Linked DNA regions of Homo sapiens: regions 1, 2, 3, 5 and 6 are each linked to region 4. The links are contacts of gene promoters, found by promoter capture Hi-C in blood cells and fetal thymus (Javierre and others, 2016). All regions are on one chromosome and are shown on one strand. The core of a region is centred on a gene start or on the middle of the fragment in contact, and the rest is flanking DNA. Distances in the headings are between cores, read along the strand shown.

Region 1 (4,611 bases), core at 713-3,212, 1.6 Mb before region 4:
CAGGCTGGTCTTAAACTTCTGACCTCAGGTGATCCACCTGCCTTAGCCTCCCAAGTGGGGACTTGTTTTATGACCCAGCCTTTTCAGGTGCTCAACAGCACTTTTGAATGAATGATGGTTAATAGTTTGTAGACTTCATTTTGGTATTTTCCAGTTGGTATCTATTGACTGTAGGTTATTTCTAAGAAATGGATGCCAAACTAAGGTGTACACCTTCCCAGTATCTTTTTTTTTCTCTTTTATGAGTTTCCAAACAGTTTAGTGAATAATAAACATCCACTTTTTAAAATGGAATAGAAAATATTAGTGCTTTGCATATAGTAAGGGTGTTGTTTCATGAAATTTGTTTTAGTGTGTGTGTGTGTACTAGGTTGTAATGTAAAATCTTTTTCATATTATAAATTGCTGTAAGGAAAGCTGGAAAATCACTGTTCCATAACATAAGATCCTTAGGTAAAATTAATGTTAAAAATACATGCCATACAACCATACATATACATGTATACATATATAGGGAGAGCAAATGAATACATATACACATACACAGAGACACACAAATATATTGATACACATATACACATAATGTAAACTGTTCTAGCCTTGGAAACGTTTGCATTTGATACAGACCGTATGCATTGTTTTCTTCTACAAGTAGCAGCATTTTAGTGACTGATGTACAACCATAATATTCAAGAATAATACTGGATGATACTAACAGAGAGTAGAGAATTTATTATGAAACACTCAAGTGCCCACTATATGCCAGTTATTAGGTATAGAGCTGTAAGAAGCAATATTTAATAACAAATATTTGGTAGGTATTGGTAGGCATGTTCATGTTTTACACACGTTTTAATAAATAGGCAGCTAGGTTTTCTCTCTTTTTTCTTCCATCTTTTTTTGGTTACTGTAAAGTAAATAGTAAGTTTTGATAATGGAGCACTCAAAATGCTCCATTTGCATATTTTATGTGAAAATTCTATTTATTTAAGTTGTGTATAATTTCCTGTAAAGTTTTTCTTGACTCTCAGAGTGTCTTTAAACACAACGCTCCTGAAAGCTTATGAAATAGTATTCGTTTCTAACCTTTTATATGATATAAGCTCCTGAGAAAAGATAAGAATTCCTTCTCATTCCTTCACTTATCACACTTTTGTTTCTCTGGAGCATAGCTAAAAATGTGCAAATGGCCTTAATACAGTACTGGAGCATTGTTTGCTTCAGTGTTGGTTGAAAATAATGTGCTCTAGCTGTTACAGTGTTGAGGTGAGTATTGAATTGGGGTGGGAAGAGTGCTGGAGTAGAAGTCAGATGGTCTGTCCCTTTGTCCTAGTTTGGCTTTGTGACCTTGGCCAGGAGACTCAGTCTTTATACTCCTCACTTGGAAACTTAATGGATTGAACTTGATACTTTCTGTCATCTCTTCTGAATCATAATTTTAGGCAAACCTAAATAATGTATTTGCTGTTTTTTTTTTTGCAGCAAACAACAGTGATCACAAAAACAAACACTGAGCTTTGGCACTGTGCTATGGAGCTATATTAGACTTGACTTAAAATTCCATTTACTTTGAAATATCAGATTTGAAATAAATGTTGACATCTCTTAATGTATAAGGTCAATAAATCTTATTCTCTAACTAAAGAGCAATTATTTATGATGCAAATAAAATGTATTTCTATTATTGCACTGGTAACATAACGTGGTTCTCTAATTCCATTTAGCTTTTCTCTATTTGTTAGCTTTTGTACTTAAGATTGTTTTATCCACATATTTAGACAACTGCCATACACAGCTGCACAGCTGCCTTATAGGTAATAGTTTTTTTGTTTTTTTTTTTTTTAATGACAAAGTCTGGCTCTGTCACCCAGGCTGGACTGCAGTGGCATGATCTCAGCTCACTGCAACCTCCACCTCCTGCGTTTAGGGGATTCTCATGTCTCAGCCCCCTGAGTAGCTGGGTCTACAGGTGTGCACTACCATGCCTGGCTAATTTTTGTATTTTTAATAGAGACAGGGTTTTGCCATGTTGTCCAGGCTGGTCTCGAACTCCTGACTTCAAGTGATCCACCCGCCTTGGCCTCCCAAAGTGCTGGGATTACAGGTGAGAGCCATGGTGCCCAGCCTATGTAATAGATTTTTAAGATTCAGTGCTGGGCACGTGGCTCATGCCTGTAATCCCAGAACTTTGGGAGACCGAGGCAGAAGAAACACTTGAGCCCAGGAGTTTGAGACCATCCTGGGCAACATAGTGAGATCCCATTTATTTTAAAAAAAAAATTAAAAAATAGCTCAGCATCGTGGCACGTGCCTGTAGTCTCAGCTACTTGGGAGGCTGAGGTGGGAGGATCACTTGAGCCCAGGAATTCAAGATTACAGTGAGCTGTGATTGTGCCACTGCACTTCAGCTTGTATGACAGCAAGACCCTGTCTCAAAAGATTCAAGTTAATGCATTTATCAAACACCTTCTGATACAAGGCATATATTAAATGCAGTAAGGAGATGCTAGTTATGTAGAAAAACAGGTATCACCATTATCTAAGAAATTTAAAATTAATAAGTGTAAGAAAAGTCCTGTAACAACTAGATGGATTTAGGAAAGTACCAAACAGAAAATACAATATATTTAAACAGGAAGGGAGTCAAAGATGGGAGAGGCCAAATTTATTTGGGAAAATCAGGAAAAACTGTGGAGAAGATGGAATTTGATATAGGTTGGGAAGACTGGATAGCATTTTGAAAGACTTAGGGGAGCCAGGCTTGTAGAGGAAGCTACGGAAATGAAGACACTAGAATATGCTTGGCTTATTTGGGAAGGAGCAGATAATCCTGCTTTTGGGAATCGTTCAGAAACAGTAGACCATAAAGCTTCATATTGTAGACAACCTTGAAGGCCTGTGCTGAGAAATATGTACTTAATGCAGAAGATTGGGGAAGCCATTGAAGGTTTTTGAGTAATAGGAGCTAATACTTTTTTTTTTTTTTTTTTTAGACGGAGTCTCACTCTGTCACCCAGGCTGGAGTGCAGTGGTACAATCTTTGCTCACTGCAACCTCTGCCTCCCAGGTTCAAGCAATTTTCCTGCCTCAGCCTCCCAAGTAGCTGGGACTACAGGCGTGCACCACCATGCCCGGCTAATTTTTGTATTTTTTAGTAGAGACTGGGTTTCACCATGTTGGTCAGGCTGGTCTCGAACCCCTGACCTCAAATGATCTGCCCGCCTCAGACTCCCGAAGTGCTGGGATTACAGGCGTGAGCCACCATACCCGGCCGGAATGAACACTCTTAATCATAGGCATCCTTGCCCTCATCAAACTCAAGATTGTTTACTGTTTGTCATTATAATTTTGATTAATGTCATGAAAAGGGATGCATGGAGTATTCTAGGAATATAGCAGGGACCCATTGAAGGTTTCAGGGAAAACCTGAAGGCAATGATGTTTAAGATGAGACAAGAAAGTAAAAGTAAAGTAGATAAAATGAAAGAATGAGGGAGAAAGTGTGTTTTGGGGAGGGGAGGTGATTAAGTATCTTCTGCCGAAAAGGAAGCCATGTTTGCAACTAAAGGCAAGATTAAAAGTCATGGCTGGTGCAGAGAGCACTGGGGAAAAGTGTTGCAGATATGACGCTAGAAAGAAGTCACGTCTTGGAAGGTCTGGCAAGTCATTTTAAGGACTTATAAGTCTTACATGAAGGTGAATGGAAAACATCGAAGAGGTTTGACATGGCTCTTCAAGAAGATGATTTTGGCAGCAGTGTATAGGTAGAAAAATAGGAGGACAGTAGGTAAGTTAAGATATTGCACTTAAGTGAGATCCAAAGAGGGTCTAAGCTACAGTGTTAGCAGAGGACATTGAAAAGAGGGATATATGACAAAAATTACAGGGTGTTTGTACCACCTGGCCCTTTTGAGTTGGTGTGATCCATCTATGCCTACACCTTCTTGGCCTTTCAAGTCAAGTATCACAGGCTCCCTGGTCTAGGCAATCTCTTCAGATTCCTCCTTCTGTTATCCAGTCTGGTCCCAGATATTAAGATTGTCTGCCTGGCTGGAACCTTTGGGTTCTTATCCTAAACTACCTCTCCTCTGGCTTATATCAGACTCTTCTACACGTTGGACCTCAGCTGTCCTATTTGATGGGCCTTCTGGGACCCTTTCAGAGGGAGGGATCTAGACAGAAGGAGAATCTGAACAATTTGGTACTTTTCAAATTGTGAAGGAGTGGGATGTGAAGAGAAGAATTAGATGGTAACTCCAAGGTTTAGAGTTTGAATTACTAGAACGAATAAATGCATTTTTACTGTAAGCCTTCATAAAACAGATTCAAATACAGCTTTTACTTGGCTACTTTGGATTTGTCTAAAATCGATTTTTATTTATGTAATTCCTCTGATGGAAATATTATATGTAGAGAGTGTGATCAAGAGTCCGCCATCTAAACAGGAAGCCATGTTTGAAAGTAGAGGCAAGATAGCATTTTGGGAAATTGAATCATTATGCCTGGTGCAGAGAAAACTGGGGGAAAGTGGTTGAGATGTGAGGCACTGAGTAAATAATGTCTGTAATTCTGACCTCAAGCTTTTATTCTAAATTACACTCTTTTTTTTTT
Region 2 (4,808 bases), core at 2,300-4,799, 1.5 Mb before region 4:
AAAATAATATGGATTGTTATTATTAGATTCAGTGTTTATATGTGCTAATTAGATCAAGTTTGTTAATTGTGTTTATAATTTTTATTTGCTTGTTCTCACAGCCATTAAGGGAGATACGTTAAAAAGTTTCCCATTATGATTGTGAAATTGTCTGTTTTATTTTTGCCTTATATATTTTGAAATCATATTCTTGGATACTCTCTCTTACACACACACATAAAATTGTGATATCACATTAAGAAATGTCTCTATCTGTATTAATGCTTTTGCCTTAAACTCCACTTTATCTAATATTAGTATGGTTTCTTTTGGCTAGTATTTGCAGTGTATATCTTTTTCTATTCTTTAATTTTTGATCTTTCTGTGTCCCTTTTTAAATGTGTGTCTCCAGTACTCATTTCAAAGTTGGGTTCTATTTAATTTGGTTTTTATCTAATCTGACCATGTTAGTATTTCAATTAGAGAATTTCATTCTTTTGCATTTAAAGGAATTACTGATATAGTTGGGTTTATACCAACTGTGTTCCCATTTTTGTTTTTTTTTCTTCTTAACCATGTTTTATTTTTTTCACCTTTCTTTTTTCCTTCTTTTGGGTTTTTCAGTTTTTATAACAGTATCATTTTCTTTCCCTCTGATAACTTGTTAGACATTCTTTGTGCATGTGATTACTCTAAATTAAAAGATCTATCTCTGATTATAGTTTAATATGAATTATTGCTTGTACCATTTTTCCCTATAATGTGAAAACTTTAGACCACCTGGATTCCATTGTCTCTTTCCCACCTTTGCTGTATTATTATTGTCATGTATTTTAATTTGACATATATGTGAAATTCCACAAGACACTGATGTTTTGTATGTCAGTATCATTATACCTACCTCCGATTTTACTTTTTCCAGTATTCATTGCTTTCCTGTTTCCATATGGGATCATTTACCTTTTAACTAAACAACTCCGTTTAGAATTTTGTTTAGTGTACATCTTCTGGTGACAAATACTCGCTTGGTTTTGCTTTTCTGAAATGTTTTTATTTTGCCTTCATTTTTACAGGATATTTTTACTGGGAATAGAATTCTGGATGGGTATTTTCTTTTCAGCAATTTAAAGATGTCATTCCATTGTGTTCTGGATTCCATAATTTATTGAAAGGTCAGCTATTATTAGTCTTTTTTTTTTTTTTTTGAGACGGAGTCTTGCTCTGTTACCCAGGCTGGAGTGTAGTAGTGTGATATCGGCTCACTGCAACCTCTGCCTCCCGGGTTCAAGCAATTCTTCTGCCTCAGCCGCCTGAGTAGCTGGGGATTACAGGTGCCTGCCACCACACCTGGCTAATTTTCGTATTTTTAATAGAGAAGGGGTTTCACCATATTGGCCAGGCTGTTCTCAAACTCCTGACCTCGTGATCCACCTGCCTTGGCCTCCCAAAGTGCTGGGATTACAGGTGTGAGCCACCGCGCCTGGCCTTATTAGTCTTACTGCCTTTTTAAAAGTAATATGCCTATTTTCTCTGACTGCTTTTAAGATTATCTTTTTTATTTTTAGCAGTTTTATGACGGTGTTACGAGGTGTAGTTTTCTTTGTCTTTATCCTGCTTGAGGTTCACAGAGCTTCTTGAATCTGTGGGTTGATATATTTTCATCAGTTCTAGAAAATCTCAGCCATTATTTTATGGAATATTGCTTCTGCCCCATTCTATTTCTCCCCTTTAGGGCCCCAGTATAAAAAATATATATTTGATCTTTTGACTGTATCCAACATGTTTTCAAACCTATTTTCCGTGTTTTCCTTTTTTCCCCTCTTTGTCCTTCTGTGCATCAGTTTTGTATTGACCTTTTTTCCAGTTCATTAATCCTATCTCCTGCTTTTTCAATATGCTTTTAAACCCATCAACTCCATTTCAGACATTATGGTTAATTCCAGGTTTATTTTTCAGTTCTAAGTTACCATTTGATTTTTTAAACATATTTTAGTTTTTTGATGAGTTCCTAAATTGTTTTATTTTTTGTCCATATTTTTCTCTAGTTTTTGAAGTTCTTAATCACAGTTATTTAAGTCTTTGCTAACTCTAGTATCTGAGTTACCTGTGGGTCTGTTTTTATTGAATGCCAGACATTGTGCAAAAAAAACCTGTGAAAACTCATGATGTTTTCTTCCACCAGAGAGGTTACATCGTGTGCTCGGCTAGTCAAATAGAGTGTGAAGATGACCACTTTAATGCAATCAGGACCTGTGCTTAGTTGAGGCTGGCTTGCAGTTTTATTAGACCCAAACTGTGTCTAGTTTATCTTTGTTCATAGTGCATAACCCTCTTCAACTGTCTTTGTTTCTCAGCACAGACAGGCTATAGGAAATTCCACCTTGCTTTTCAGTATTTTTGATTCACAGTTTTAGCCTATTGCTCCTGGGAGATTCATACTTTGGCAAACATCTTGAGCAAGCAACCCGCTGTCTCTAAAGCCCTTCAAATCTGTAATTATGTTACATTTGCTGTATGCAACCACCAGACTACTACTGGTTCTAATGTCATGAACAGTCATAAGGGATCAAGCTCGAATCCTGAGCCTTTAGCCACATCCAAATCAACAAGTGCTGCAGGGAGAAGAGAGGATGTAAATCATTGGTGTTAGTTTAGTTCACAACTTCAGTCTTTTTGCTTCTAGGCTGTTCTTTGGGGTCTCCTTCCTCTGTCAGGCTGTTGTCTTCTCAATACTAAGAGAAGAAAATTACACTATATTTTTTTTCAGAAATTTAGCTCTTTAGCCTCCTACCCAACAAAATTAAAACTTTGGCTCTTACTTGAGGGGGAAACTAGTTGTATGTTGAGGTTCCTTAAGTCTCTAGTTTTGTCACTCCAGCTCTGTGCAACCACAAAAAACTCTGTCCTTCAGCAGTGCTCCTCTGCCTGCATAAAGCCCAAATTCTCAGCCTCTAACCTGTACTCCAGGAGAAAAATGACCACAGATACTCAGCTCACCTCTGAAAGTCTCATGACTTCTGCAGCTCTCTCACACTTTCTCAATTATAAGGTTTTATTTTATGCAGCTCTTCTGATTCTCAGTGGAATTTCTTGAAGCAGAAATCTCTACCTCTTCATTTTTTGATGGTACTACCACAACATCCTATCTTTTCCCTACCCTCAAGTCCATCATCCACAGAAGTGTGAAAGTATTCTAACCCCAAATCTGATCTTGTGGGTTATCAGCTTTAACATTTTTAAATAGTTCCCCACAGACTCAGCAGTGGTTTTGCAGAGGGACCTACAGAAAAAAGAAGGGAGATGCTAATGGTTTAGCCTTTGGACCCTGACTTTAACTTGGACCCACTTATAACTTCAAACAGTGAAGCTCATTTTTATCTGATACGTATATCAGGACCCTTTGGGTTCTCAGGTTCTTTCCCCTTGTTTAAATCATGAACCAACAGAATAAAGTATCAAGTCCTTAAGACTCTTGTGGTAAATTTTAGCTTGCATCTCCAGTCTCATCTGCCATTCCCGACTCCCACCAAACTGCCTGCAGTTCTCACTGGATCCCAACCTCTCCCCACTTCCAGTATAGAATGGTGCTTCTCATTCTCAGATTTTGGTCAAATTGTACATTCCGCTCAAAATGCCCTCTTTCCCTATCCTTTAAATCTCTAATTTTTATGTCACTCCTTTTCTTAGCTGTTGAGGTAATAATAGTTCTCATCAATGTTACCATGATTCCCAGTGTGCATCTTTATGCTTGCTGGGATCTACAGTGTCTGGCACACAAGTACTTAAATAGTTGTTCACTAAACAAATGAATGAACTAGGCTTTGGAAGATACTTAGGGTTCTAATTGGCATATTTAAGTAGGGAAGGCATTAATGAAAACAGGAGAAGCCAAACAAAGGTAATAAAGTAGAAATAAGTGAGAATGGCACTGGCAGTCCATGTGCAATGAATGAGAGAAAAGATTAGGTGGAGAACATAGATCTGCTGGATATGAAATCTTGGTTCGATAGCAAGTAAGAAGTGTGTAAGTTTTTAACCAGCCAAATGATATAATGAAAGCATTTGCTTGGGGATATTCACTTAGCAGAGTATGCAATTGGAATTGGAATAGTCTATCAAGGTAGAATCCTTAAAGTCATTCTTGTGTTCTATGTACTTAACCAGTCAATGGAATCTTGCCCATTATACTTAGGCCTTTGGAGTATGAGCCATGGCACCATGTTACTTCAGAATCTCAGACCCTCTTTCCTGGATTACAGCAACAGTCTTCTCACACCCATCATTCTCTGTGCTCCTACTAAAGGGATTTTTATAAAAACAACTTAATTGTGCCTGTAACCTGCCTAAAAAGTTGTTTGGCTATATTTTCCTAACAAACTTAAATTATACATAGTCCTTTACAACCCAACCCCACTCAAATTTAAAGAGGTTTGTTTCATACCACTCCTTTTCACATATACCATGCCCTCATAAATATCTGTGACTTGCACATACTGTTTTCCTTTTCTGGAAGGCATCTCAACCTTTCCCCACTCGAAAAAACAGTTCAAATGTCACCTACTCTATGAAGCCATCCCCTGCTTTCCCAGGTAAATTTAAATGGATGATCGGGCCTTAATCGTATTTGTATGTATTATTTATTTATTTTATGGAGACGGGGGTCTCACTGTGTTGCTTAGGCTGGTCTCGAATTCCTGGGCTCAAGTGATCCTCCCCCGTGAGCCACTGCACCCAACCATATGTACTTTTAGAACTTAGCACAGTGTCTGGCACAGTATTGGCCTCTCCTAGGAACTGAGTTTTTAAAAAATTATCACTAAAAGATGAAT
Region 3 (4,353 bases), core at 1,105-3,604, 1.6 Mb before region 4:
AAACAAGCCAATGAAAATAAAAGGCCAAAAGCAAATCCAGGAAATTGATTGAATATGCACGGCTGAGCTATAAAAAAAAAAAAATGAGGAGGAACTCTATGAACTGATACATACGAATTTCTAGGATATAGTCTTAACTCTTAAAAACCATGTGAAAAACAGTATATACAGCATACTAGATTTTGTATCAGAAAGAAAGGGAAATAAAACTTCCATAGATCTATTTAATTCTGTAAAAAGAAACTCAAAAAGGGTAAATCAGAAAACAATGAAATTGATTACCTACAAGAGATGCTGAGGAGTGGATGGGGTGGAGTGATAAGGGAGTGAAATTTTTTATTATACTTTTCTGTAAAGTTTTGTTTTTTGGAAGCATGTTAATGTTATAAGCTTTCAAATATATAATCAAACAAACAAAATTTGAGGAAGCAGGGATGAATTTAAACAGAAACAAATGAACCCAACTGTATTTCAAATGAATACTACTACTGCGAAAAGGGAGAAAAAGAAATAACAACCAAAAACAAAAAACCTAATCCAACTAACTTTTGTTTGTTTTTTTTTTTTTAGACAGTCTTGCTCTGTCACCCAGGCTGGAGTGCAGTGGCACAGTCTCGGCTCACTGCAACCTCCGCTCCCAGGTTCATGTGATTCTCCTGCCTCAGCCTCCTGAGTAGCTGGGACTATAGGCGCCACCAACACATCCGGCTAATTTTTGCATTTTTTGTAGAGACAGGGTTTTGCCATGTTGGCCAGGCTGGTCTCAACCTCCTGGCCTTGGCCTCCCAAAGTGCTGGGATTACAGGCATGAGCCACCGTGCCCAGCCCCAAGTAATTTTTGAACACAGTTTATACCCTCAGTATAAGAAAATCTCATCCTGAATTCATGAGTTGATGTCCTTTGTAGCGACATGGATGAAACTGGAAACCATCATTCTGAACAAACTATCGCAAGGACAGAAAACCAAACACCGCATGTTCTCACTCATAGGTGGGAACTGAACAACGAGAACACTTGGACACAGGGCAGGGAACATCACACACCGGGGCCTGTCGTGGGGTTGGGGGGATGGGGGAGGGATAGCATTAGGAGAAATACCTAATGTAAATGACTAGTTAACGAGTGCAGCAAACCAACACTGCACATGTATACATATGTAACAAACCTGCACGTTGTGCACATGTACCCCAGAACTTAAAGTATAATAAATAAATAAAAAAATCTCATCCTGAATTCTTTATTCTAGGCTTGTTTTCTGAAGTAGTATGGGTGTAGAAATTCTGAAAATTGTAAGATTAAGCAAAAGAATAAACATATTAATATCACTGGGAGCCAGGGTTCTTACTACAGAAGAAGGGAAATACAAATTTAGAATCAAGGGAAAGGAAGAACTCGGGTTTAAATGAAATTTGAAATATGAAATTATAATTTCTAAAATATTTATACATACTTTAAAAATCATGTCCATTGAAAAGTCCTGGAAGAAATGATACTCCAACAGTTATGACAATACCTAGTAACACAGATCTTGGTTTCTAAATACCATTTTCCACTAAAAAGAAACCAGGGCTCCTTGAAGAAATGGTTGACTCTAGGGCTGGGGAAGAAAGTTATGAGATAATTCTAAAAAATCTGTTATGACAGAAAGGAAGTGCTCTCAATGGTCAAATTTGGGACCATTTGAGCAACAAAATAAATAAGTTCCTTTTTTAAAAACATTGAGATGTGATTAAAGTCCAATAAATAAGTTCCATAATGGGTAATGATACATGTTATCAAATAGGAATCCATGATGCAAACTGATTATAAATAAGGACATAAATACTTAAGGGTAAAGGAAGAGCTATTTCTTGGAATGCTAGCTGTTAAAGCAGAGGGAGTGAAAGAATGGGGGGAAAAAATCACAATTTTGTAACTATCAGAATAAACACAGCTTCAGGCAAGAATCAACAGATGCCAAATCTAGGGATGAAGTTGATGAGAATCCAGATAGCTGCATGACTGTAAAGTGTCTCCTCACATATAGCTTATTAAATGTAGAACAGAAAACATTAACTATATACTGAAGCCAGGCATGGTGACTCATTCCTGTAATCCTAGCACTTTGGGAGGCTGAAGCAGAAGGATCACTTGAAGCCAGTAGTTCAAGACCAGCCTGGGCAACAAAGCCAGATCCCATCTCTACAAAAAATTTTAAAATTAGCCTGGCCCAGCAGTGGTTCATGCCTGTAATCCCAGCACTTTGGCAGGCAGAGGTGGGTGGATCACCTGAGGCCAGGAGCTCAAGACCAGCCTGGCCAACATGGCAAAACCCCGTCTCTACTAAAAATACAAAAATTAGCCAGGCATGGTGGTGCACTCCTGTAATCCTAGCTACTTAAGAGGCTGAGGCACGAGAATCACTTGAACCTGGGAGGCGGAGGTTGCAGTGAGTCAAGACCGCGCCACTGTTCTCCAGCCTGGGCAACAGAGCAAGACTCCGTTAAAAAAAAAAAAAATTAGCCTGGCCTAGTGGTGTGCACCTATACTCCCGGCTACTCAGGAGGCTGAGGCAGGAGGATTGCTTGAGCCCTGAAGTTTGAGGCTGCAGTGAACTACATCACGCCACTGCACTCCAGCCTAGGTGACACAGCAAGAGCCTGTCTCAAAAAACAAACAAACAAAACGATATACTGAAGAAGCCAGACTACACTTGAATCAGACAACCAGAAATAATCCACTACCAAAGGGCAGCTATTGTTGGCCTCCACTTACACAATGTTCCAGCTGGAAAAGTATCATCTGAATCCCATCGTAAGGAACTATCAGAAACCCAAATTAAAGAACATTTCATAAAATAACTGGCCTGTACTCTTCAAAATGACAATGTCATAAAGGACAGGGAAAGGCTGAGGATATGTTACAAATGAAAGGACACTAAAAGACATAACAACTAATTGCAATAAATGATTCTGGACCAGATCCTGTACTGAGAAAAACAAATGTGATAAAAGACATTACAGTATTGGAACAGTTGACAAAGTGAGACTATGGACTATAGATTAAAGTATTATATCCCTGTTAAATTTCCCATAGTTGATCAATGTGCTGTGGCTACAGAAGAGAATATCCTTGTTCTTAAGGAAGACACACTTTAGTATTAACATGTAAAGTGGCATAATGTATGCAACCTACTTGCAAATAGTTAAGAAAAATTATTTGCATTGAGAGATAATAAAACAAATTTTGCAAAATGTTACTTTTCTATTGTTCTTGCAACTTTTCTGTAGGCTTGAAATTATTTTAGGTTAATTAGTTTCAGAGGATATCTAATAAAAAGAGACTACTAAGCCAAGATAATTGTAGGTCTTTCTCCCCCACAACAATTATCAGTTTAAATCCTTGTTTTCCCTATAGACTACCCCATTTCTACATCCTACATCAGATCAAGAAATATCAGATTTCCATCATTTGTTTAAAACTTTAAGGACTTTTTAAAGAACTTAATGATACATATTAAAAGAATTTTATGCTAACTTTGGTGAGTTTTGGGAATTTATATTGATCTTTTTTTTGCGAAAACTTCCTACAGAGATAGGTACACAACGTGCAAGGTATGCTATTATATACAAGAATGTTTAATAAGTACATTACTTATCACAGCAAACAAATGGTGAAAAGTCTAAAAATCTATGATTACAGAAATAGTTAAATAAATTGTGATACATCCACATTGTAGAACACAATTTTTAGAAAGAATAAAGTATACCGTAAGTGCAAAAATATAGGTATAATACATGATATAATACAGAATGAGAAAAGTTGCTGATAGATTTATTTGTATAAAAAAACAGAACCGCGCTAATGTGTTTATGTATGTGCCCAGAAACAAAGGCCTGAAAGGATAGACAGGAAGTAGTTACCAGTGATTGCCCCTGGGAGAATGAGTAGGGGGAAGGGCACTACTTAAACTGAATTTTTTTCCTAAAAGATCCGTGTACTATACAATTTTTACAGTTTAAAAAACAAAATACTTTGTATTCTTAGAACTAAGATTTAAATGTATTTTGATGAAATATGGTTTCAGTGAAGAACACAAAATATAACGGATGTCTGAACTACTAATATATGCTTGTTACTTAGCATATATAACAAGATCTATTTTTCTGTTCAAGCACCTTTGTTCTATCAAGTTCCATGAGTTTAATTTTTAAACTAACAAAGCCAACAACTCCTTTTTGGAAATAGGTAAAATAATTCTAAATGGAACATTTCTGGTTACTTACTGATAGTAACACAAATTTAAAAACAAAACAAATACCAACATAACGTCCTTAACAAAGCTTATCCTGAGAATTATTTCAATTGACAGA
Region 4 (4,506 bases), core at 1,727-4,226:
ACCTTTAGTGCCCAAGGACATGAACGTTAATATCATAATTAGAACTAAAAAGAGCCAGGAAGGCAATTACCAGAATTATGGTACCATCTTCCCTTCAAATTAACTAAAATAGTGAAAAATCTAACAAGGCCTTCACTTAATTATCAGAAACTTCCTAGCCTGCCACTAGCAAGGGTAATGCTTAAGTCAGCGATGTCAGGGATTGTACAGCTTAACCTTGACATAAACTACTTAAGTGTTGTTCAATGGACTCTACATTCACAGGCCCATTTCATGGAGTCACATAAATTTCTCCTCCCGCATTACATACCTGAGAGGTCAAACGTACCACCACAGAATCTGGATCCTAGGTCAGTTAACAAAACCTGCAAAATCTTGAAGGAATCTGTTTTCTGCATTTATCATTCAGCTCCTTAGTAACAACTGCCAAGTATTAGGAAACCAGGCGAACCACAAGCACTTTTTTATGTGTCTCCCTGAATATATTAGTCAGAAATTAAAGAAGAACTGAGAGGCTTCTGGTACTTGTGCAGTGTCATCTAAAACAATGTTAACTTTACTCATTAACACCACACGACATTTCACAAAGTATATTCGGTTGGATGTCAGTGTAGTTAAGGGTAAGTGCTAAGAAAGCAAGCCACCACCTTATACGCTCTTCTAGCCAAGTACTCAGAAGGCCTCTGATCTTAAACACCGGGAATGAACACATTTGTTCCTGCAAAGCCAACATGTTTAAGCACAATTTACAAACCTAGTTATAATACGGTCTAAGTGTCAAACAGATAACCCTTTCATAGTCTCTGCATCCCTCATTCCTCCCTCCCAAACAAAACCAGCCTGAATTGCCCACTGCATGCAAAAGGCTATTTTGCTTCATGCAAGTCTTACTACTTTCCATGGCTCACAGTCTCCAAGAGACTAACCCTCTCATTTACTAACTCAAACCTTAAACTGCCTCCAACAACTTCCCTCTCTTCTTAACCCCCACTCAGCAAAGACATCTCTGTCAGCGAAGAAAGCTGCATAGGAGGCTTGGAAGTGGCTGCCTCTGCAAATTCCCCGCCCCCCACCTTCCTACCAAAAGGGCACTTCAAGAACTTTACCATCTCACATGAAAGTTGCTCCAATTCCATTCTCCAAAATTGGATTTGAGCATGAAAAGTTTCTTTTTACAATCAACTGCTATTTAGGCTACTGATCACACTTAACTTGCAACTTGCTTTCTACACAAATTAAGAATGCCATCTAGTTCTCATGTATGAGCCAGCACTGGGGGTGTACACACGCGTGCGCACACATATACACAGCCTCCTCCACCGAAGGCATTTCCTGGCACAAGGGGCATCCTAAACTTGCTCCATTTCCAAGGTGTGACCCTCTATCCCCAAATTCATCCCTTTTTCTTCATTTCAAAGTTCAGCCTAATCCGCTATTTTGCAGCAGCTATGGCCATTTATCCCCCTTGATTTCTTGACATCATCTTCTCTGCTTCTGGCTGGGGAACTTTTGATTTGAATACAGTTGTCTGTGTGGGGATCCTTCATGTTAATGATGTGGTGAGCTGGCAGGGATGATAGGTGAGAGTACACAGTGTACTTTTTCTAGTTACGTTTCGCCTCATCACTGCTATAGGGGCCTTTCTAAACGCCTGCCACACCAGGAGAGAGACCTACAGACCCAAGCTTACCCGTTTCTGGGCAGCCTCCAGGGGACAGGTAGAAACAGAACAGATGGCCTGTTCTCCAGTATCTAGACTCAGAAGCAAGATACTTCTAACCACTCCACGAATGAAGCAAACACACGTACCTCTGGCTCAGCCAGGGAGTCACAGTCACTACCCTTCCCCTGGTTTCGGCCCCAGCCCTGTCCAGGCGTGGATGCTGCACTCTCCTCGCTGTAAACCGTCCACCCTCCCAACCCAAAGCAAAGAGCTTCCAACAGAGGTGGGAGCATTAGCGCCGTACCCGCCCTTCCCTCTCGATCCCGGCCAGAAAACTCCACTTCCCGGATTCCCGGCCACTCTCTCCCGCCCCCTCCCCGGGCGATCCAGCTAGCGCAGTCCAGATGCCAGCTTAGTGCCCAGTCCAGCTGCGAACCCCCACACTCCGAGCCAGGACCCAGTAAGAGATCCCAGCTTCCTCCCTCTTCCAGGACTGGGGTTCCCCAGATTCTGGACGCACCCCTCAAACATGCTAGGGCTGAAAAAAGTCCTACCCCGCCCCCCAGCCACGCCGCCAGCCTCCAGCCCAGCCCCGGAGGGGCCTCCTCTCCAGAGGCTAAAAGGGACCATGAATGGTTGCCACAGTAGCCTTCCCCCGCACCGCGCAAGGGTCCTCAGACCCCCGAGGAGGACAGACCCGCGTGGCCCCGAAGGGATACCTCCCTCTCCTCCCGGAAGCCAGCAGGTCCCCGCAGGGAGTGTGCTCTCAGAGGGTCCCCGGGAATCTGGGGAAGACTTGGGGGGTGGCTGGATTCGGGTGCAGCCCCTCCCGGGGCGGGCGGAGGTCGGCGCTGCGGCGCGTCCCCGGGGGGCACTCACGATGGTCACGCTGGCTTTGCGCAGGTCGCGGTTCTCCTCCTGCAGTGCCTTGCACTTCAGTTTGTAGGTCTCCAGCTCTATCTTCAGCACCTTGTTCTCTTGCTGCAGCGAGGCCAGGCGGTTGGTGAGCTCCTCCAGGCGGAACGGCGAGATGACAATGCCCCCCGACTTCCCACCGCCGCCGCCTCCCCCGCCGCCACCGCCGCCGCCCGAGGTCGACGAGCAGGACGACTGCATGGCGGCCGAGCTGCTGCTGTTGCCCCCCGCCCCGTCCGTGTCGCTCTCGCTGGCGCTGTCCGCCATGGCCGCGGCGGGCTGGGGAAAGGAGGAGGAGCAGCAGGGAGGCGGCGGCGACGAAGGCCGGGCTGCGAATGAGTGGGCGCCGGGCGAGCACAGGGGAGCGCCGAGCTGAGCGCCTGGCACCAGGGCGCAGACTCGGAGCGGCGGCGAGAGAAAGAGAGGGCGCTTCCCGCTGCCAAGGGACCTCCTCTGCCAGAGAACAGAGACCCCGCCCGGGCTTGGGCAGTATTGCACTGGGGCTCGCTCCAGCCGGGCTGGGCGCGCTCCCTAGGCCGCCCAGCAAAGCTGGCTGAAAGCTCCGGGACCCGCCCGCCGCCGTCTGGTGACCACGGGCGGGCTGGGAACGCGCAGGCACTGCGGGTGCGGGAAAGCCAAGGACTGCCCCCGCACCACCAGCTCGCCAGCCACACGTGTTCCAAGGGAGGGCCTCCGAGCCCCCTGATCTAAGCCCACGGCCGCCCAGCCTCTTCCGGGCTCGCGCCCGCCCCGAGAAAAAGGAAACCTGATGCCCCACCAGCCTCGCAGGTGCCGGGGACACGTGGAAAGGTCAGCCGGGCTCCGGCACCCATCCTCTACCGTGTTGTGGCCCCATCTTCCGCCGACTGTGTGTGCGCGTGTCTCCCTCTATCTGTTTCACACATACACGCAGTTTTATATTCTCAAAAGCAAGGTGTTTTTGACTAGGAAGGCTTGGATAAACCTAAGAGAACAAAGTTCCTCTACAAGAGGCCGAGGAGGATGAAACAACAGCAGCCACAGGTTAACCTTGTTAAGTAAGAATTTGCAGGAGAGACACACATCTCCTTTAATAACCTCATAAACCACACTGCGCTCAATTGTTTAAACAAGGTGCAACTGTTTTTTTCTTTTTCTCTTTGCATTTTGCAAACATTTCCAGCACATGTCTCGTAGTAGGATTAAGACAGTAACATTTACCTAATGAAGAAAAAAAAAAAGGAAGGCGAAACACTTTTAGTAGAAGATTGAAACACCTCTTTAAGTGCCAATTTTCCAAAGTAACTGCGGACATAACATTATGCTATACAAATAGTAATGATTGAGTGGGAGTGCAACATCACCCGTCTTTGCTATCCTCTTGCTCACTCCTAGAAAACTTTAGCATGTAAAAATAAAACAGTAATTACTGTAATGCGGTCTAATTCATGGTTCTAGCTTTGCAGTTTAAGAAATTAAAAATCAAAAACTTTTATTCCCCCTTCCTCTTCCCAAAGAAAGGCTTGCAGGAAATTGGCCCAGCAGGTGAGATGATTCTAAACACTTTGCCCTGTTGACACAAAACAGCTTTCACTTATGTATAAAAATTGGAAAGTGAAACTGACCAGACTAGTTTTATTACCCACGCTTAGTTAACATTACAACAAACACATGGTAATAGAAAATAGAAAAAAAAGTGTAATTTTTTTTTCTGTTGGGTTGAACTTTCTGAAAGATTTCTAAAGTGTTAGGAAGAAAGAAGAATGATTCTTATTCCCACTCCCTCATTATCTTTAAACCTAAATTTGATCTCATGATTAAACGGTGATTCAATGGCTCTTGGAAACTGGCACCTCAGAATAAACTCGAAAACACCAAGTGTTCCAAATGACATCATCTTTCACCAAGATGGCTGCTTTTAGCAAACAGCTTAAATGCCAACAGCAACT
Region 5 (4,837 bases), core at 1,210-3,709, 2.0 Mb after region 4:
AGTATAAGGGGGATGTGAGTAGGTGATATTCAAATACTATGCCATCTTATATAAGGGACTTGAGCATCCACAGATTTTGGTATCTGCCAGGAGTCCTGGAACCAGTCCTCTGAGGATACTGTATTGCGGCCACAAAAATACAAAAGACATAAATAACCTCCAGAGTATAGATAACAGTTAAATATAGTAAAACAATTAGAGTGTTGAGGGTATATTACCATTGTTTTCTAATATAATTTATTTGAGAGCTTATATAATTTAATGTTCAATAGTGGATGTGTTTGACATCTGACTTGCAAAATTTCTGAAAATGTAATCATCAGCTCTAGGGAGTCTGCGGGAACTAGTGCCAGCACATCTCTAGAAGGGCGTTGTTTAAGCCCTGAGGGAAATTCATCTGGTCCCCTACTATCTTTGTTGAAAGCCCACCCAATTTTATTTTGGCCAAAGCTTATTGGAAATGAAAACAGAACCAACCTCACTGTTTTTCTTGGTATTATTTTTCTTCTGAAGTACACAGATCTCCTTATACCCTTAGTGAATTACCACGTTTACATATTTCAACCTGCAATAACAAGTCATAAAATTATCAGTCTGTGACATGGCAAAATGTAGGTGGAGGCGGTCAAGGGACTTGCCGGCACTTCCATGGGTCTGAATGACTCCCCAGCAAGGGCAGCTGCCTCTATACAGATGACCAGCCTGGATAATTCTGCCACAATAACTGAGAAATTCCGACAAAGCCAGAATTAGGGTTTGAGTCCTGCAGATAATTATAGTCATGGACATGGAGACACAGCAAATCAGAGAAGAATGATCCCCTTGACTTTCAGTCTAGTGATTTACCTACCGTACCCACTCTGCTTCTAGGTAATGAGTTACTTAATGCTTGTCAAGTAATTATAAGTTGTAAATCACCAAATACAAGGCATCATTAATGTCCGTTTGAAACTGCACAGAGAAATTTTAGTAGGCAATATATGAGTGCCCCATTGGAGCCAAGACTCCATGTCTGTACATTTTTTCTTGTCTCCTTTAAAAAAAAATCAGGTATGGCAAGATGTTTTCATAACCTCAGATGGTTGGGACCTCTGTTTTGAGTATGACCTATGATAGGTGTTCCCAGGAATTTCTTTAATACCATGCTGGGGGGAAATTTGATCAAATTATTTATTAATATGTGGATCACAAATGAGTCTGAAAGCCTGAGTCACCACTACCCTTTCCTCCAGCACCCTGCCATTTGAGATGGAATGCCGTGGCATTCTGAATAGAGGGGCAAGATTACAATTTAGCCAAACGTCATATATGTACCCCGCAGTGCAGGCAATTAAAAAAAAAAAAAGCTTAGTTATTTCTATACTAAGTAACCCATAAATGTCAAGGGCACTTGAAGGCAATGAAATTGTTAAAATTAAGGGGTGTTAGGGTGTATTTGTGATTGGGGTGAGGGAATGGGACTTGGCTTTAATTTACAAACAAATTAGAAAAAATAAACAGACTCAGCATTGCTATTGTAACTGGAAAGGCTTGAGCAAATTTAATCCAACTTCCTGCATAATATTTGATTAATCTCAGACTCGGGAGGAAAATCAAGATGAGATAGGAAGTCTCCATCTGTATCGAGGGCAGGGGAACTTGGGGCTTCCAGTGCCCACAAAGGGCATCACATGACCCTTCCCAGGGGATCACTTGCTCCGAGTTCCCTGTGTCTCTCTTGGCTCCGGCTCCAAGTTCATGAGAAATCTGTCCCCATACCCATCCTTCTGAAGCTTCCAGCCTTTACCACCTGGACCTGGGCTGGAGTCCCACCCCCACCACAGCTCTTGAGACAGGCGACGAATAGACCCAAATTTGAGATGTAGCTCAACCTTTGACCACTAGAGGTCTCCTGGAAAGCAATGACCCGTATAACCCGGTTGATCCTCCTTCAAACCAATAGACTTGTTGCACTAAGGCTTGGCGAGCCTGCTCTGCTCAAGGCCTCCTTATTAATAACGCCACCCGCCCCCGCCGCTCACGATGGCGCCAGGCATAGAGGGGGATGGGACCAGGCGGTGGCTGACCCTCAGACAGTGCTGGTTCTTTACGAATCAGTCTGCAGACTCCAGGGCTACCCCTTCGAACCCCACTTACTGACCAAGCAAGAGCAGGAGAGCGTGCCTAACTCGAGGTCCCCAGGTGGGCAGCGTGGAGCCCCACAGACTTCCAACCAGCGATGGACTGGGCAAGGGACCCACGTTCAGAATCACCTAGCATCAGGTCCGCCAACAGGCCAGAATCCACTCGCCCCTCGCTTCGTCCCCCTAATTCCTCGTCCCCATTACCCCCCTTCACCGCCTCCGTTTTGCCTCCGGATCGCAAAAGTGACCCGAGCTTTAACCAGTGGAGAGAGATCAGGGAACAATTCACTGTCCCTATTCTCATCCATGTGGTATTTTCTGGGAAAATTAGTGGCTTCTAGCTGGAAGAGGAAAGAAAAGGGGTGGGGGGGTGGATGGCTGAGGGGGAGCAAGAAAGGAAACAGCCAGGTTGAATTCCCAGTCTTTATCAAGCAATTCGCTCACCAATGAGAGAAAGCTGCAGTGGCAGATTCGAGCCACATGCGGTAGTGTGTAGCAATTAGTAGATAAAATGCTGACTAAAGTGCTAAAACATGAAGTATTATTGTAGCCAAGGTCAAAAATGCTTCAGTTGTCTTTTGCAATTTGGGGGAGGGGAGGCCCAGGGGTACGCAGAGAGGTTTGCATTTTCGAAATGGTCGCCTTCTTTCTTCAAACTGTACTTTTCCTTTTTTTTCTTTTTTTATGATCCTGTTTATTATAGTCCAAGCTGCCTAATTATGTCACTGCTGGTTTTTGCAACTAACTTAATCCTCCTGATCCTTTATGAAGCGATTCACAGACACTGAATAATGTCTACTGCTCTCCCATCCCCTTGAGGGGCAAGAATGATTTTTAATTTTTTACCGTGTAAATACACGAGATTAACTTAGAGAGTTGGATTTTTGGCTAGTAAAGCAGCAAGAATATAGGTGTGTGGGTACCGGATTCTGTGTTTCAGTACAAGAAAGAGCCCAGAAGTAGTGGGTCATATAAACATATACTACTCTCCCTCCCACCTTTTATACACAGCAAGTTCCAGCTACAAGCTTTTTTATAGATAAATAAAGCAGTTGCTTTCATGATTATAACTGTCCTGAATGGATTGTCTTCTTACAACATTCAATCTGTTTATGAGTATTTACTTTACATTAGCCCAGGGACCCTGCACTGCAGGAGTTTGCCTCTATTCCCCTGGGTGTCGGTGTCTCAAGTCTTACATCTGCTCTGTGATTGATGGAGCCTTGAATCCACGTTATTACTCTCTCACAAGCAGAAATCAAACAGGCTATTAACTACATTACTTCAAAGAACTGTTTCAATACAATCTCCTTATCTTAATTGAAACTTTCTTTGTATGGATATTTGCTACACAGATAATTTACAGGTGCCTATCAAACATCACATTAAAGAAGAGGTAAAATTGAGGGATTTTTGGGGGGGAGGGGTAAACACTATTGTGATCTGTAATTTTAAAAGGCATTCACAGTATTGGTTTGATTTATTAGATTTATTATGTTCACGGGGGGTGGGGGCAGTGCTGTAAAAAGAGGGGGAAAGATACCCCTGTGATTCGGTTTTGAAATTTAGCATTCATCTGATTACAAGGCTGCGGATATTCAAAAATATTCAGACCCAGATCCCTGCAATTGTTAACATCTCAGAAACCTTATCGGAGAGATAAGGCAGCATGCATCCTAGTTCAGTGCCTACCTTGAAGAGCTGAAGAAACAGGGTTTCTAATTAGATGAAGTTCGTTACACACTTAAAGACTTACAGCACCAAAGACAGTAGAAGTAGCTTAGATGCTGTAAAGAGCTGTATAATTTTTTAAGAAAGAGATTTAATATACAATTGAGGGATACCCTCAGGCATTCTGTTGAGGTTTCCTGCATAAATGCTGCTGCATTGGTCATACAGGAAACTGACTCAGAGTCGATCTCAAATACGATCTTGTCAAAATACTGCAACTCAAGTTTTTTTAATATAGGATTTCTTGAACTGGATGTATATATTTACGCTAACACGACAGAGACTAACAGAAGCTTTAGGCATATCTATTTTTAAAAAAGACATGTAAAATGCCCCTCAGTCAAGTCCATTCATATGTTAAAAATGAACAAAATGGGCGATTCTAATCAAACGTCTGCAGTATGCATTATAAAGTTAAAAAGAGAGAGAGAAAGCGCAGGAGAGCTATAATTTCTCTTTGTAACCCATGTTTATAAAATAGAAAGATCAGATGAAATTTCAAGAGATAATTAAAGAGTGATGTGCAAGTCATAATTTGGCTAATGTTAAAGATGGGAGACTGCGAATTGTAGTCCTCCATGGTGCAGAGTTGTGATATTACTTTAAATTATTAAAATAGTTTTCGACAGCTTTCAGAATACCGGCTCTTTGGCATGGGCTTTTATTATTTATTGTAATTAGAGGATCTGCCATTTTCTTTCGTTTATCTCTGTGTGTATAGAAACGAGATAGATTTTGCCTTTTATTACTTCCCCATATTCTGAATCAAAAATGTGGTTTAGATAATGTTAAGTGCCCTAATTCTTACTGCAGCGGACGCAGACGTTATGAAAAGGCATAAAAATACACACAGAGGGTCTTTCCACCTCAAGTCACTGAATATGAGGCATTTGTGCTCTGCCGGGTGTATTAACTTCAGCCATGTGAATATAATTTTCATTAAAGTAATCCTGTTTCAACTAGATGCTGTGACTAGAGGTGAA
Region 6 (4,365 bases), core at 527-3,026, 1.6 Mb before region 4:
CCTATGTCAGAATTTCCTTCCTGTTTAAGGCTAAAGACACAGATTTTTAAAGGATAAGGAATGCTGTATTTATCATCCTTGGGGTTTAGTAAAGTCTCTCACTCCTGGCTGCAGGGGAATGGGAAAGTAATGGGAAAGGAAGGAGAAGGATTTGGGAGAAAGTTTCCAAAAAGTAGAAAGGCATACAGGAAGGAATTAGGAACACATATTGTATCCCTAGGGTGAGCCCAACCACCGAACTTCCTGTGTCAGTAAAGTGTAAATATCTTTCTGCCTTTTCACAAGATTATATTATACAGTATATATAAAGGTCTTCCTAAGCCAGCTGGCTTTGGAGTCCCCATCACTCTTAATTGATTATAAAGTTGGCTTTGCATTTAGTGCCTGTAATTAGATTCTGTGAGGCATTGCAGAAAAGTACAACCAACCATGATTCAGAGCACTTGGAAATAGGTTTGTTAAAGAGCTGTGTCATGTAGACTTGTTTAACAATGTTTATAGCATTAACATGTTTATTACTGTTTAATCTCAGGAGTAAAATTACAAACATCAATCTCAGTAAATGACAATATATTGTTCTAGATTACTTAAAAAGTTAAGAGAGTGAGGTGCTCATTTATTGCTTTAAAGTATAGTCTTGCAGGGAGCGGTGGCTCATGCCTGTAATCCCAGCACTTTGGGAGGCCGAGGCAGGCAGATCACGAGGTCAGGAGATCAAGACCATCCTGGCTAACACAGTGAAACCTCGTCTCTACTAAAAATACAAAAAATTAGCCAGGTATTGTGGCATGCGCCTGTAGTTCCAGCTACTTGGGAGGCTGAGGCAAGAGAATCACTTGAACCCGGTAGGCAAGGTGGCAGTCAGCCGAGACCGCACCACTCACTCCAGCCTGGGCTACAGAGCGATACTCCATCTCAAAAAAAAAAAAAAAAAAGAATAATGTTTACTTTTAGATGGCATATCAGCTGCAAAATGTGCAATTGTTATAATATAGAACTAAATTGATTAGAGCAATACAGTCAAAAGACTCCATCCAGAATATTTATATCATAGCCTAAAATGACAATTCATATCAAAGAAGAAAGGAACTAAATTTCTAAACATGCTTGTGAAGGGTCACAAGATAGGAGAAAGCTGGTTTTTTTTTTTTTTTTTTTTTTTTTTTAACTGTTGTTTGTTTGTTTGTTTTGTTTTGTTTTGTTTGAGATGAAGTCTCGCTCTGTCATCCAGGCTGGAGTGCAATGGCATGCACTCACTCTTGGCTCACTGTAACCTCTGTCTCCCAGGTTCAAGAAATTCTCCCACCCCAGCCTCTGGAGTAGCTGGATCTACAGGCACACACCACCATGCCCAGCTCATATTTTGTATTTTTAATAAAGACAGGGTTTCACCATATTGGCCATATTGAACTCCTGGCCTCAAGTGATCTGCCCACCTCAGCCTCCCAAAGTGCTGGGATTACAGGCGTGTGCCACCTTGTCTGGCTGGAGAAAACTGTTAAATGGAATTGTAAAAAAGAAAAAAATATATATCTGAGAAGAAGGAACCCTGAAAAAGAGTAAAACACATCTATTATGGGAATAAAATTCTCTCTACATGTAACTTTCTGCTCTAGGATTACCACTGCCTTAATCTTTTTTATATCAAAACTTTGAAATGAGTTTATTAGGGATATTCTTCCATGAAACATTTTTCATTTTAGATAATAAATCATGGGATAAAAATGCTATTTTTTCATCATTTTTAAAAATTTTATATAAATTAAATAATAGACCTTCCTTTCTTCCTTCCTTCCTCCCTCCCTCCCTCTCTTTCTTTCTTTCTTTCTTTCTTTTTTCTTTCTTTTACTTTCTTTTTTTTTTTTTTTTGACAGAGTCTTGCTCTGTCACCCAGGTTAGAGTGCAGTGGCATGATTTAGGCTCACTGCAACCTCTACCTCCTGGGTTCAAGCATTTCTCATGCCTCAGCCTCCCGAGTAGCTGGGATTACAGGCATGCACCACCACACTTGGCTAATATATATACATATATGTGTGTGTGTGTAGAGATAGGGTTTCACCATGTTGCCCAGGCTGGTCTTGATCTCCTGGCTTCAAGGGATCTGCCCTCCTCGGCCCCCCAAAGTGCTGGGATTACAGGCCAGACTTTCCATATAATTTATCAAAACATGTTTTTTTTCTTTGTGTTAACAAAGGCCATGAGCGAAATCAGTGATTTCCAAACTTTTTTTTCAAGTGTTGGAAGCCATTCTTTTAATAAATTCTAATGTGGAATTCAAGAACAATAATAGCTCCCATTTTTCTGAACAAGCTCCATGTTCCCCATATTGTGCTAAGTGCATTACACATTACCTTCTGTTTCCGTTGATCATACATGGTAGGTCTATTAAACTAATTTTTATATGAGGAAGCTCACCCAAGTCCATTCAGATACTTTAGAAAAACAGACACATACTGAACTGCTCCAGTTACAGCTGGGGATGAGAGGGAACGGGCCACATCCACATTTCTGCCCTCACCACAACCTTGTCCCAGCTCCCACAACCCGGTCCTAACTTCCGGGGTCTTTGTTGAAATCCCCCTCTGCCTCAGAGTGGCCCATCAAGAGCCTGTCCACTGGGTGCTTTGCTGAAGAATGGGGGGATGCAGCTGCCCTGTTTAAGAAGGGGTCTAACTTCCCAGGGCCCCTCAGAACGTTATGAAAATAAATTATGACTAAATAGAACCACAGAGGGATTTTTTTTTCTCGTACTTCATTAATCAAAGAAAGAAAAAATGTTTAAACACTCTTCTGCTTGCTCTTTGGTGCTCACAATTGGTTTTATTGTTAATGAAGAAAAATGGGCTACAAAATGGACAGGATCAGTCTTGAAAGAAATGCAGGTCTTAGAAGGATACACATAACAGAAACTGCCTTGAAGGAAGCACAGGTCACTCCTGAGAAGTTCATGGTTGGCTCCACCACTGTTGAGGCTGTCTGCTCTTTGCCCTTCCCAAGTGGTGGTTCTAATCTAATTTCAAACAGAGACTCATTCAACACTGGGTTTGAACCCTGTGGAGATTTGTGGGGGACAAGGAAGTTCATATATCAACCACAGGTACCACCCTGGGAATGGTCCCCCTGAAATCTTACGGCCTGTAGCAGGACAGAATTGGGGATGTGGGGGTCACATAATGCCAAAACCTGTGAGACAACAATCCAGACAGCTGTTCAAAATAAGACACATGAAGAATGCTTGTCCTACATGTGTGCCAAACACCGGTTCTGAGCCATTCATTCCCAGCTCTCCTGATTGGGCTCTACCTCCTGATGATTCTGGTGTTACAGTTGGTGGGACTACCCAATCACAAAAGGAATAGGCCCTGTTGTATATGAAGACCTCAGTGGCCTATAAGCTCAGAACTGCCCCCAGGACAAAAGAGAGTTCTCACCAGCCCAAATAAAGCACCCAAAGGTCAAAAAAGGTGGGGACATTGGATGGGGTGGCCCTCCCCAGAAACCACTCCTGGACAGCAAAGCCTCAACAACACAAGGAGAAAACAAAAAAGAGCGCTTCCTGTATTTGCAAAGACAAACACTTCTTCATTGAGTGAAGGAGAGGCAAAATTGGCAATTGGCCGGCAGTCCCCAGCAGTACCTGAGAAATGAGGTCACTTTTGTTCCAGAGAGGGCAGCCTTGTCTTGGCATCTCCTGCAGCGGAGCCAGGCTGCACTGGCCTCACTCCGCCAGGGCCAAGCTCATGGACCATAGCCCCGGGACTTCTGGTAGATGTCCTGCTCCACTATGTCACCTCCACCAGGAATGCCTGAATCTTTTCACCAAACCCTTCTTTTCACTCTACTCTCTTTGAAATTTCTGACTGAATCCGTGTGTCAACTCCTTCCTTCAACGTCTTCATAAATTGCCCGATTGCCGACTGTTGCTTTGACTCTGCCTCCAGATCTGCCTTGGTCAGCAGCACACCCAGGGAGCTCTTCATCCGCCTCTTCCACTTGGCCAGTGATCCTCTCCAAAGACTTCTCCAAATCTGCCCCTCTTTCTCTGGACCATCTTTCTCTGGACCATCTCCCCCCACCCCCGCCTCCACACCCCATCGTGACCCGGGAACCACTCTGTATTCCGTGCGCTGACAACTCCTGCTGCCTGCTCCGTATCCTGCAGAGACTTCTTAAATCTGAGCTTCTGACGGCTGCAAGATCCCTGTGGCCTCTTCCGTAAGCTGGGCCGGGTGTGGGAGAACTGGGTTGCTGCAGCCCTGCTGCGGGGTGACAGGAGGCCCAGGCTTCGCATTGCTGTGGGTGACGGTCATATGGATCCCGGCTCCTGCGGCGTCCTCGCTCCTTCCCTGGCCTCCCGGAGCGGGG

What was found. The method cuts DNA at HindIII sites, captures the fragments that hold promoters and counts their contacts. A CHiCAGO score of 5 or more calls a contact.
Region 1: a fragment that was not itself captured here is called in contact with the fragment with the promoter of CCDC6 in region 4 in 1 of 17 cell types (M0 macrophages); the score reaches 5.5 in M0 macrophages.
Region 2: a fragment that was not itself captured here is called in contact with the fragment with the promoter of CCDC6 in region 4 in 3 of 17 cell types (fetal thymus, non-activated CD4 T cells and naive CD8 T cells); the score reaches 6.2 in fetal thymus.
Region 3: a fragment that was not itself captured here is called in contact with the fragment with the promoter of CCDC6 in region 4 in 10 of 17 cell types (naive CD8 T cells, fetal thymus, naive CD4 T cells and 7 more); the score reaches 16.5 in naive CD8 T cells.
Region 5: a fragment that was not itself captured here is called in contact with the fragment with the promoter of CCDC6 in region 4 in 1 of 17 cell types (fetal thymus); the score reaches 5.9 in fetal thymus.
Region 6: a contact is called between a fragment that was not itself captured here and the fragment with the promoter of CCDC6 in region 4, in 1 of 17 cell types (M1 macrophages). The highest score is 7.1, in M1 macrophages.

What each region holds. Positions count from the first base shown.
Region 1 is chr10:58,343,039-58,347,649 of GRCh38, forward strand. The region is part of intron 1 of UBE2D1 (ubiquitin conjugating enzyme E2 D1); the gene reads left to right. Among named protein-coding and RNA genes, the nearest start is that of UBE2D1, 10 kb to the left of the region's middle. The HindIII fragment of the contact is 1,809 bases long and covers 1,059-2,867 here.
Region 2 is chr10:58,375,684-58,380,491 of GRCh38, forward strand. No RefSeq gene overlaps it. Among named protein-coding and RNA genes, the nearest start is that of TFAM, 7.3 kb to the right of the region's middle. The HindIII fragment of the contact is 7,211 bases long and covers 1-4,808 here.
Region 3 is chr10:58,261,037-58,265,389 of GRCh38, forward strand. The region is part of intron 1 of IPMK (inositol polyphosphate multikinase); the gene reads right to left. Among named protein-coding and RNA genes, the nearest start is that of IPMK, 4.7 kb to the right of the region's middle. The HindIII fragment of the contact is 3,933 bases long and covers 389-4,321 here.
Region 4 is chr10:59,903,580-59,908,085 of GRCh38, forward strand. It overlaps CCDC6 (coiled-coil domain containing 6), which reads right to left and starts at 2,977. Exons shown (of 9, transcript NM_005436.5): 1 at 2,543-2,977. The coding sequence starts at 2,845. RefSeq lists an enhancer at 1,690-1,919 and silencers at 2,440-2,719, 2,750-3,089, 3,272-3,566. The HindIII fragment of the contact is 3,234 bases long and covers 1,684-4,506 here.
Region 5 is chr10:61,895,245-61,900,081 of GRCh38, forward strand. No RefSeq gene overlaps it. Among named protein-coding and RNA genes, the nearest start is that of ARID5B, 4.0 kb to the right of the region's middle. RefSeq lists an enhancer at 1,594-1,763. The HindIII fragment of the contact is 1,379 bases long and covers 1,771-3,149 here.
Region 6 is chr10:58,322,828-58,327,192 of GRCh38, forward strand. LOC112268068 (a long non-coding RNA gene) reads right to left here. Exons shown (of 1, transcript NR_158219.1): 1 at 2,801-4,365. Among named protein-coding and RNA genes, the nearest start is that of UBE2D1, 10 kb to the right of the region's middle. The HindIII fragment of the contact is 6,040 bases long and covers 1-4,365 here.